Regions from separate parts of the Homo sapiens genome. Here all the other regions are linked to region 2. Evidence: promoter capture Hi-C in 16 types of primary human blood cells and fetal thymus (Javierre and others, 2016). All regions are on one chromosome and are shown on one strand. The core of a region is centred on a gene start or on the middle of the fragment in contact, and the rest is flanking DNA. Distances in the headings are between cores, read along the strand shown. Region 1 has its middle 4.2 kb from the start of NPRL3. Region 2 holds the start of MRPL28 (mitochondrial ribosomal protein L28). Region 3 overlaps LUC7L (LUC7 like).

The links. Contacts are between HindIII fragments. The CHiCAGO score rates a contact against its expected background, and 5 or more counts as called.
Region 1: a contact is called between a fragment that was not itself captured here and the fragment with the promoter of MRPL28 in region 2, in 7 of 17 cell types (naive CD8 T cells, total B cells, total CD8 T cells and 4 more). The highest score is 7.2, in naive CD8 T cells.
Region 3: a contact is called between a fragment that was not itself captured here and the fragment with the promoter of MRPL28 in region 2, in 1 of 17 cell types (M2 macrophages). The highest score is 5.0, in M2 macrophages.

What each region holds. Positions count from the first base shown.
Region 1 is chr16:141,055-144,600 of GRCh38, reverse strand. No RefSeq gene overlaps it. Among named protein-coding and RNA genes, the nearest start is that of NPRL3, 4.2 kb to the right of the region's middle. RefSeq lists a cis regulatory region at 1,128-1,646. The HindIII fragment of the contact is 3,114 bases long and covers 266-3,379 here.
Region 2 is chr16:368,974-371,787 of GRCh38, reverse strand. It overlaps MRPL28 (mitochondrial ribosomal protein L28), which reads left to right and starts at 1,250. Exons shown (of 6, transcript NM_006428.5): 1 at 1,250-1,289; 2 at 1,563-1,857; 3 at 2,568-2,720. The coding sequence starts at 1,570. It overlaps PGAP6 (post-GPI attachment to proteins 6), which reads left to right. Exons shown (of 13, transcript NM_021259.3): 13 at 1-1,000. The HindIII fragment of the contact is 7,915 bases long and covers 865-2,814 here.
Region 3 is chr16:199,178-202,693 of GRCh38, reverse strand. It overlaps LUC7L (LUC7 like), which reads left to right. Exons shown (of 10, transcript NM_201412.3): 6 at 3,456-3,516. Among named protein-coding and RNA genes, the nearest start is that of HBQ1, 20 kb to the right of the region's middle. The HindIII fragment of the contact is 3,111 bases long and covers 509-3,516 here.

The DNA of each region.
Region 1 (3,546 bases), core at 573-3,072, 230 kb after region 2:
ATCTCAGCTCACTGTACCTCCGCCTCCTGGGTTCAAGCGATTCTCCTGCCTCAGCCTCCCGAGCAGCTGGGATTACAGGCACGTAGCACTACACCCGGCTAATTTTTTGAATCTTTAGTAGAGACGGGGTTTTACCACGTTGGTCAGGTGGTCAGGCTGGTCTCGAACTCCTGACCCTGTGATCCGCCCGCCTCAGCCTTCCAAAGTGCTGAGATTACAGGCATGAGCCACAGTGCCCGGCCACTAGACCACATTTCTAAAAGCTTTACAGTGTGGTCTTTTGCGTTTGGTGACAGTCAACCTTGGGTTGACTGTGTTGAGGGGAGTCCATGTCTGTTTGGCTGGCATCTGTTGAGCACTTTCTAAGTTCTGCACATGGCAGCAACACTCTTCATTCTGGGTGCTTTATCCTCACAACCACCCTGTGAGGGAGGGTTTATTTTATTGTCATTAGTTGGGTTTTTTGTTTGTTTGTTTTGTTATGTTTTGTTTTGTTACAGGGTCTTCTTACTCTGTCCTCCAGGCTAGAGTGCAGTGTGACAATCTTGGCTCACTGCAGGCTCAACTTCCCAAGCTCAGGTGATCCTCCCACCTCAGCCTCCTGAGTAGCTGGGACTATAGGCATGTGCCACTATGCCTGGGTAATATTTGTGTTTTTAGTAGAGATGGCGTTTTGCCATGTTGCCCAGGCTGGCCTCAAACTCCTGAGCTCCAGTGATCCACCCACCTCGGCCTCCTAAAGTGCTTGGGATTACAGGCGTGAGCCACTGCACATGGGCATCATTACATTGGAAAGATAAGGAAACGGAGGCTCCAGGAGGTTATGAAACATGTCTGAGGCTTCCATGGAGCAGGAAACAAGCCCTGATGGTTTGTGTGGGCTGGGAGTCCGGCTGGGGCTGGGGCTTGTCCCTTCCTGTCCCTGGGCCTTGGTTTGAGCCCCAGCCTGTGCAGTGAGTGTGGAATGCTGGTGTCCACTGGTGGTTTCTGGCCTGAATTCCAAGCTCCAGGCACGTTCTGTGCCTGAGCAGCTGAGGCTGAGCTCAAAGGGTGTCTGGCCACTTACAAGCCACTGGACACTCAGCAGAATGCCGGATTGGGCATCTGCAAACTCTCCCATGAGAGTGGACCCTCGGTGACCCTGAACAGGCTAATTTGCCTTGTGAGTCCTAGTTTCACTGTTTTCACCTCTAGGATGGGGATTAGACTAGCCCCCACCTCAGTGTTGGGAGGGCGCTCAGGAACTTGCAGCATGAATTTTAAATTATTTCTATTACTACTGTGTGTGAGTGGTTCTCCCTGGTGGGGCAGCAACACTCAGCTGAGAAGGTGGAGGTGTCCAGGCAAGTCCCAGATAGCGTCTGTGAACCCCACCCGGCCCTCCTGCAGATGGCGGTGGCCCTTTGAGGCCCAGACCAAGTGGCAGGACCGATAAGGCCTCCTATCCTGCCAAGGGCAGGCCCAGGCTGGGAGGAAGGGTCAGGGGTTTCAGTTTCCAAAAATCTACTTACCGTCAAAAAAGCAGGTCATGAAACAGCTATTTAAAGGTAAAATGAGGAGACTTGGAGGTGTGGGGTCTTAGCAGAGAAGAGCCTGAGGATGTCCCCTGTAGCAAATGGAGGTTGGCCCTGGTGCTTCATTGTCCAGGAGACCCTGGGAGAACTTAGAGCTGGGACTCACTCAGGGACCATCTGCTCTGAACCCTGTTACTGGTGGGGAAACTGAGGTCCAAAGCAAGGCCCACTGACCCTCAGGCCAGCGTGTGACAATGATGTCTCATTTCTGTCACAGCCAATGAGGTGCAAACATGGACATGAGGGTGGCGCTGGGATCCAGAGTGCTGCTTCGAGGGCAGGGACGCACCCAGGACCTCTGTGGGCTGGGGTCATGGTGAGCTCCCTGCACTTTCACCAGTTCGAGCTCTCATTATGACTGACGATAGTCAGAAGAATGAACAATGAGTGCCAGGGTTACTGGCAGGAGGCCAACCCTGAGAGGGTAACCGGGGGAACAGTGGGATCCTTTGAGCCCAGAGATGTCCAGTCTGGAGCCCCAAGGTTCTGCCCATTGGGGCAGCAGCACGATTAGGTCAGAAGAGCGAGACCTGAGTCACAGTCCTGCTCCATTCGCATGGTCGCTGTGAGGGTCCCTGTGAGGAGGCCTCCATTACCACCACCGGCCACTGCCCTGGGTTCCCCCACCCCCATCTGTCCCATCTCACCCCTCCAGCCTCAAGCCCTGCTCCTGCAGTCTCATTTCCATCCCAGAGGCACTCCTGGGAAGTGCGGGAGAACTCACAAACCTTTTGATTATACATAAAATCAAAACATGGACAACGGGGATAAAGCCTTGCAAAATGTGTAGCAGAGGTTATGTATTCCTCAGAAAGAACACAGCCAGACCATCCAAGAACAGACCACCTGTAAAGAAAACAAGAAAAGCAATTCTCTGCAAATAATTAAGTGATGCAGCTCTCCCTCTCAATCAAAGAAATGCAACATAGAACAAGACACCATTTTCCTTTCTGGGAATTTCAGGAAAAAAAAAAATGTTATGCAGGCCGGGCACGGTGGCTCACGCCTGTAATCCCAGCACTTTGAGAGGCCGAGGCGGGTGGATCAAGAGGTCAGGAGATCGAGACCATCCTGGCTAACGCGGTGAAACCCCGTCTCTACTAAAAATACAAAAAAATTAGCCGGACGTGGTGGCGGGCGCCTGTAGTCTCAGCTACTGGGGAGGCTGAGGCAGGAGAATGGTGTGAACCTGGGAGGTGGAGCTTGCAGTGAGCTGAGATCGTGCCACTGCACTCCAGCCTGGGCGACAGAGCAAGACTCCATCTCAAAAAAAAAAAAAAAATTAGCCTGGTGTGGTGGCGGGCACCTGTAGTCCCAGCTACTTGGGAGGCTGAGGCAGGAGAATGATGTGAACCTGGTAGGTGGAGCTTGCAGTGAACTGAGATTGTGCCACTGCCCTCCAGCCTGGGTGATAGAGCGAGACTCTGTCTCAAAAAAAAAAAAAAAATGTTATGCAGCCCTGTGCAAGAAAACGCACCTGTTGGTACTGTTGAGCCATTTCAAATGCACGTACCCTTCACCCTGGTGAGGCCAATCCACAAATTTGTTCTGCAAAATACACATTAGTGTCAGTGTTGGTGCAAGAGGGTTACTTGCAACAGTGAAAATGCTCATCCCTCAGTCAAGTGGTTAGGTTCTGATGCATTTGATGTGCTTGGGAAAGTTCTGGAAGCAGCCAAAGAAGCTCATTACCTTTAGTTACCTCCTGGGGAAGCCTGGGATAGGGTAGGTGGGGTGATTTTTTAAAAAACAACTTCATTGAGATATAATTTACCATACCATACCAATTTGCATACCATAAAGCTTATCCACTTCAAGTGTACACTTCCATATCTTTTTTTTGTTTTTGAGATGGAGTCTCGCTCTGTCGCCCAGGCTGGAGTGCAATGGTGCGATCTTGGCTCACTGCAAGCTCCGCCTCCCGGGTTCACACCATTCTCCTGCCTCAGCCTCCTGAGTATCTGGGACTACA
Region 2 (2,814 bases), core at 1-2,500:
TGAGATCCCTCTGCAGATCCCAGCTGCTGTCTGCAGTGGCCCCTGGGGCCTGGGCTTGGTTACTTGGAGACCACAGGTGCCTGTGCGAGGGTGGGGCTGTGTGCTCTGCTGGCCTGTGGGTGGCTAGAGATGGGGAGAAGGACTCCCTATGGTCCTGTTCCCTGGCGAGGCTGTGGTGAGACCCATGGCGCCCAGGAGCCCTGAGCCCACCACTGGGGCCGGGAGCTGTGGACTCCGAGACCCCTGCTCCTGGCCCCTGTGTGGCCCTGATGCCAGCCTGCCTGGGGCATGGAGGATCCCCCTCTGCTGCTGTGGTCACCATAGGGACGGGAGACGGAGGTTTCCCCCAGAGCTGATGGGCACTGGGGATGCAGGCTCCCGCCCCGCCCCTCCCTTTTTCCTGGCTCTGGAGCCTTGGGTCCCTGAGAAGAGCTTCCTTGGACTGGGGTGCTCTGCTGCTCTGGGGGTTTGGCCCAGAAGGAACCCCTACCCAGCCCTGTCCACCCACCCCAGCGTTCCTGGGCCCCCCTCTGGGAGCTTCCTCTTGGTCCCAGGAGCTGCGGTGGTGTCTGCCCCCTGCACTGGGCTCTGTGCCCTGTGGGTGTTCAGGAGACTGGACTGTCTCTGCTCCTCATGCAAACCTTGTGGGGGAAGCAATGACCAGGAGCAGCACCTGGCCCCTCCCTGAGGCCTGTGAGTGTCTCGGATCCGCCCTGGAGAAGTGAGTGGCTGAGACCCGGGTGGGGCCCTCCTACCCTTGGCTCTGGGGGCTTCCCTTCTGGGTCTTGTCCGGGATATGGCCTTCCTGAAGGTCTTACCTCCCCCAGCCGCCCTGCACTTGACCACCAAAGCAATCTCTAAGCTTATAAAGGAGAAACATATATATATGGGGTTTTTTGGAGTAAAGGAAAATTCTAAGATATTAAGACATATTTTTATGTAGATCTGATCTATCTGTGTTTGGTGAATTTAATATTCTACATTGATTTTTCAAACTAAACGAGTTTTTACATTTTTTCTGTGCTCCTTCCCGGGTAGGGTAAGTGGGGCCCGGGAGAACAAGCACCGCCCCGCCCGTGCCGCCCTTCGCGGAAACGCCGGGGCCGCACGTAGCTAACGGTGCCTTGAGCTGCTGCTGCTGTATGTGGGGTGTTTTTTACGGTCCCTAAAGACGGAAGCGGGGCGGGACGAGGGGGTAGACGGATGGCTTTTACAGCCAGTCAGCGGTGGGAGGAGGGCCAGGCGCGGCAGATCGGCTTCCGGTTCCGGTGGGCTCTGAACCCTGAAAGGTGGGCGCGGGCAGGTGGGGTGTGGGGGGGCGCCGGGGCAGAAGGGGAGGGGCAGGTGGGTGCGGGACAGGGGCCGGAGTGAGAACCGGGGGCCGGGGTAGGGGGTAGCGGGTGAGAGCCGGGGGCCGGGGTAGCGGGTGAGAGCCGGGGGCCGGGGTAGCGGGTGAGAGCCGGGGGCCGGGGTAGCGGGTGAGAGTCGGGGGCCGGGGTAGGGGGTGAGTGCCGGGGGCCTGGCCAGGCTGCGACTGACTGCGAGCCCCCACCTCCCGCCAGGCTCGCGATGCCTCTACACAAGTATCCCGTGTGGCTCTGGAAGCGGCTGCAGCTGCGGGAGGGCATCTGTTCCCGCCTGCCCGGCCACTACCTGCGCTCCCTGGAGGAGGAGCGGACGCCCACTCCCGTGCACTATAGGCCTCATGGGGCCAAGTTCAAGATCAACCCCAAGAACGGGCAGCGGGAGCGTGTGGAGGACGTGCCCATTCCCATCTACTTTCCCCCCGAATCCCAGCGGGGGTTGTGGGGCGGCGAGGGCTGGATCCTGGGCCAAATATATGCCAACAACGACAAGGTGGGTCCGCAGGCGGCCTTCAGGGGCTCCTCTCAGGGCTTGGCTGTGCCGGCTCTGTGCCGGACGCCCGGGGTACCTGGAGAGACCTGGGTGGGCCCTGGGGATTACAGCCTGGAGGCGACACATCTCCGGCAAAGGAGCACGCTGAGTGAAGAACCGCAGTTCTGGCAAACAGGACTGATAAAGTAGGGGTGAGGTGGGGTGACTCAGGCCGGGGGAGCAACCAGAGGCCGTGGGGAGTCGGGGTAAAGTTAGGATGGGGAGGAGGCCTGTGTGATGAGCAGAGCAGGTGGGAGAGGCGAGCAGAGCAGGTGGGGGAGGCGAGCAGAGCTTCGAGGCTGCTTGTGGTGGACTTCCTGGCGGGACTGCTGAAGCCTGTGGGGAGACTTGTGTCACCTCCAGGTTGGAATGTGACAACCTGTAAACTGTGGGGTCGCACATGTTTCTGAAACACATGCAGCAACCATGTGACCAGGGCGGGAACGCCCAGCTTGTTGGGGAGCAGCTGACTTCTGGGTACACAGTCAGGACCCGGGTCGGGCTGGGGCGGCACTGGGCTGGGGGCCGGCCCAGTTAGCTCTAGGTCCCCAGTCTGACAGCAGTGGTTCTGTGATGGAGCCTCCGGGGGGGAGGTGAGGGCAGTTGCCTGGGCCCCCCTTGGTATGTAAGAGAAAGCAGCAGTACTCATGGAGGCTCTGTTGCACCCTCAGCTCTCCAAGAGGCTGAAGAAAGTGTGGAAGCCACAGCTGTTTGAGCGAGAGTTCTACAGTGAGATCCTGGACAAGAAGTTCACAGTGACTGTGACCATGCGGACCCTGGACCTCATCGATGAGGCTTATGGGCTCGACTTTTACATCCTCAAGGCAAGCGGGGTGGGGCGAGTCAGTGCACACAGGGTCTGGGATGGGCCAGTCAGACTCACGGGAGCCCCAGGTCAGCATCACACCGGGGCACGCT
Region 3 (3,516 bases), core at 815-3,314, 170 kb after region 2:
ATATTCTGAGAAGTGCGTTCCATGGTTCATCATTGTGAGAACATTATAGAGTGTGCTTAACAAACCTGGGTGGTATAGCCATGTGGGCTGTATGGTAGAGCCCATTGCTCCTAGGCTCCACACCTGTACAGCATGTTACTGTGCTGAATACTATAGGCAGTTGCAACACAGTGGGCCCCTAAATATTTGTGTACGTAAACATAGAAAAGGTACAGTAAAAATACAGTATAAAAGATAAAAAATAACACTTGATACGGTTTGGATGTGTGGCACGTCCAAATCTCATGTTGAAATGTGACCTCCAATGTTGGAGGTGGGGTCTAGTGGGAGGTGTTTGGGTCATGGGGGTGGTTCACTCATCAATGGCTTGGTGCCCTCCCTGGGATAGTGAGTTCACCTCAGAGCTGATTGTTTAAAGGAGCCTAGGTCCTTCTCTCTGTCTCACTCCTTCTTTTGCCATGTGATATGCTGACTCCCCTTTTGCTGCCTTCTGCCCAGCGTAAAAGCTTATGGAGGGTGGGTATGGTGGCTCATGCCTGTAATCTCAACACTTTGGAAGGTCGAGGCAGGAGGATTGCTTGAGTCCAGGAGTTTGAGACCAGCCTGGGCAACATAGGGATACCCCATCTTTACAAAGAAATTAAAAATATGGCCGGGCACGGTTGCTCATGCCTGTAATCCCAGCACTTTGGGAGGCCAAGGTAGGTGCATCACCTGAGGTCAGGAGTTCGAGACCAGCCTGGCCAACTTGGTGAAACCCCATTTCTACTAAAAGTATAAAAATTAGCCAGGTGTGGTGGCGGGCACCTGTAATCCCAGCTACTTGGGAGGCTGAAGTAGGAGAATCGCTTGAACCCAGAAGGCGGAGGTTGCAGCGAACAGAGATCGTGCCATTGCACTCCAATATGGGTGACAGAGCAAGACTCTCTCTCAAAAAAAAAAAAAAAAAAAAAAAAGCCTGGTGCGGTGGCTCACGCCTGTAATCCCATCACTTTGGGAGGCTGAGGCGGGTGGATCACGAGGTCAGGAGATCGAGACCATCCTGGCTAACATGGTGATACTCCGTCTCTACTAAAAATACAAAAAATTGGCCGGGCGTGGCGGCGTGCGCTTGTAGTCCCAGCTACTCAGGAGGCTGAGGCAGGTGAATGGTGTGGACCCGGGAGGCAGAGCTTGTAGTGAGCTGAGATCGTGCCACTGCATTCCAGGCTGGGCGACAGAGCGAGACTCCGTCTCAAAAAAAAAAAAAAAGTTATGTAAATGGAATCATACAGTAGGTAACCTTTTGGGACTGACTTTTTTTACTCAACATAATCAGAGTTTATTTTGAAAGATGTTAGAAGGTGGCATTTAAGGTTTCAAAACTATAGAAGGGGACAGAGTAATGTTATGAATATTTGTGTACCACAATATTGTTTTTGCTTAAGTTTTTTTTTTTTTTTTTTTTTTTTAGTTATGTAGCATACTATAATGGAAATTCAAGTTCTTGCTAGTTCCTTGTCTACTTTTTTTTTTTTTTTTTTCTCAGACAGAGTCTCGCTCTGTCGCCCAGGCTGGATTGCTGTGGTGCGATCTCGGCTCACTGCATCCTCTGACTCCCGGGTTCAAGTAATTCTCAGACTCAGCCTCCCGAGTAGCTGGGATTACAGGTGCCAGCCACCGTGCCCAGCTAATTTTTTTGTATTTTTAATAGAGACGGGGTTTCACCTTCTCGGACTCCTGACCTTGTGATCCACCTGCCTTGGCCTCCCAAAGTGCTGGGATTGCAGGTGTTAGCCACTGTGCCCAGCCTATTTTTTTTAATATTAGAGGGTCCTGCTGTCAGCCAGGGTCACCCAGGCTGAAGTACAGTGGCGCAGTCACAGGTCACTGCCCCTTCAACCTCCTGGGCTCAAGCAGTCCTCTCGAATCAGTCTCTTGAGTAGGTGGGACTATAGGCACGTGCCACCACAGCGGGCTAATTATTTTCTTATTTTTAGAGACTGAGTCTTGCTGTGTTGCTCAGGGTGATCTCAATCTCCTGGGGCCAAGTGATCTTCTTGCTTCACTCTCCTAAAGTGCTGAGATTATAGGTGTGAGTCACTACACCAGGCCTGGAATACAATTTTTTTTTTTTCCTTTTTGGAGTTTTCCTCTGTCCTCCAGGTTGGAATGCAGTGGTGTGATCTCAGCTCACTGCAACCTCCACCTCCTGGGCTTAAACAATTTGTGCCTCAGCCTCTCCAGTAGCTGGAATTACAGATGCCTGCCACCATCTGGCTTTTTTTTTTTTTTTTTCTTTTGAGACGGAGTCTCGCTCTTTCGCCCAGTGGCATGATCTTGGCTCACTACAAGCTCCGCCTGCCGGGTTCACGCCATTCTCCTGCCTCAGCCTCCTGAGTAGCTGGGACTACAGGCGCCCGCCACCACGCCCAGCTAATTTTTTCTGTTTTTTTAGTAGAGACGGGGTTTCACCGTGTTAGCCAGGATGGTCGTGATCTCCTGACCCCATGATTCGCCTGCCTCAGCCTCCCAAAGTGCTGGGATTACAGGCGTGAGCCACCGCGCCCGGCCAATTTTTGTATTTTTAGTAGAGACAGGGTTTTGCTATGTTGCCAGGCTCGTCTTGAACTCCTGGCCTCAAGTGATCTGTCTGCCTTGGCCTCGGAATGCTGGGATTACAGGCGTGAGCCACTGAGCCCAGCCTGTTAGTACCTTTTTTTTTTAAGATGGAGTCTCGCTCTGTTGCCAGGCTGGAATGCAGTGGCACGGTTTTGGCTCACTGCAACCTCCGCTTCCCAGGTTCAAGTGATTCTCCTGCCTCAGCCTCCTGAGTAGCTGGGACTACAGGCATGTGCCACCACACCCAGCTGATTTTTGTATTTTTAGTAGAGACGGGGTTTCACAAAGTTGGCCAGGATGGTCTCGATCTCTCTTTTTTTTTTTTTTTTTTTTTTTGAGACAGGGTTTTGCTCTTGTTGCCTGTGCGATCTCAGCTCAACAGCAACCTCCGCCTCCCGAGTTCAAGCCATTCTCCTGCCTCAGCCTCCAGAATAGCTGGGATTACAGGCATGCGCCACCACACCCGGCTACTTTTGTATTTTTAATAGAGATGGGGTTTCTCCATGTTGGTCAGGCTGATCTTGAACTCCGGACCTCAGGTGATCCGCCAGCCTCAGCCTCCCAAAGTGCTGGGATTACAGGCGTGAGCCACCGCGCCTGGCCTGGTCTTGATCTCTTGACCACATGGTCCGCCCACCTGGCCTCACAAAGTGCTGGGACCGTGCCTGGCCGCGTTTCTTAAATAAACAGTGAAAATTGAGTTGGTTATAAATATCTGAAGTTTTGTTTGTGTTTTTTTAATATTTGTTTAAAAGTCACCTCTGTCATCTTATCAAATATTTTCATTTTGGAGATTGAATTTGTGGTGGCAGTTCTATATACCTCACTTTTATTTCTCCATTTTCCTTCTTCAGGAAGAATACAGAAATTCCATGCCTGCATCCAGTTTTCAGCAGCAAAAGCTGCGTGTCTGCG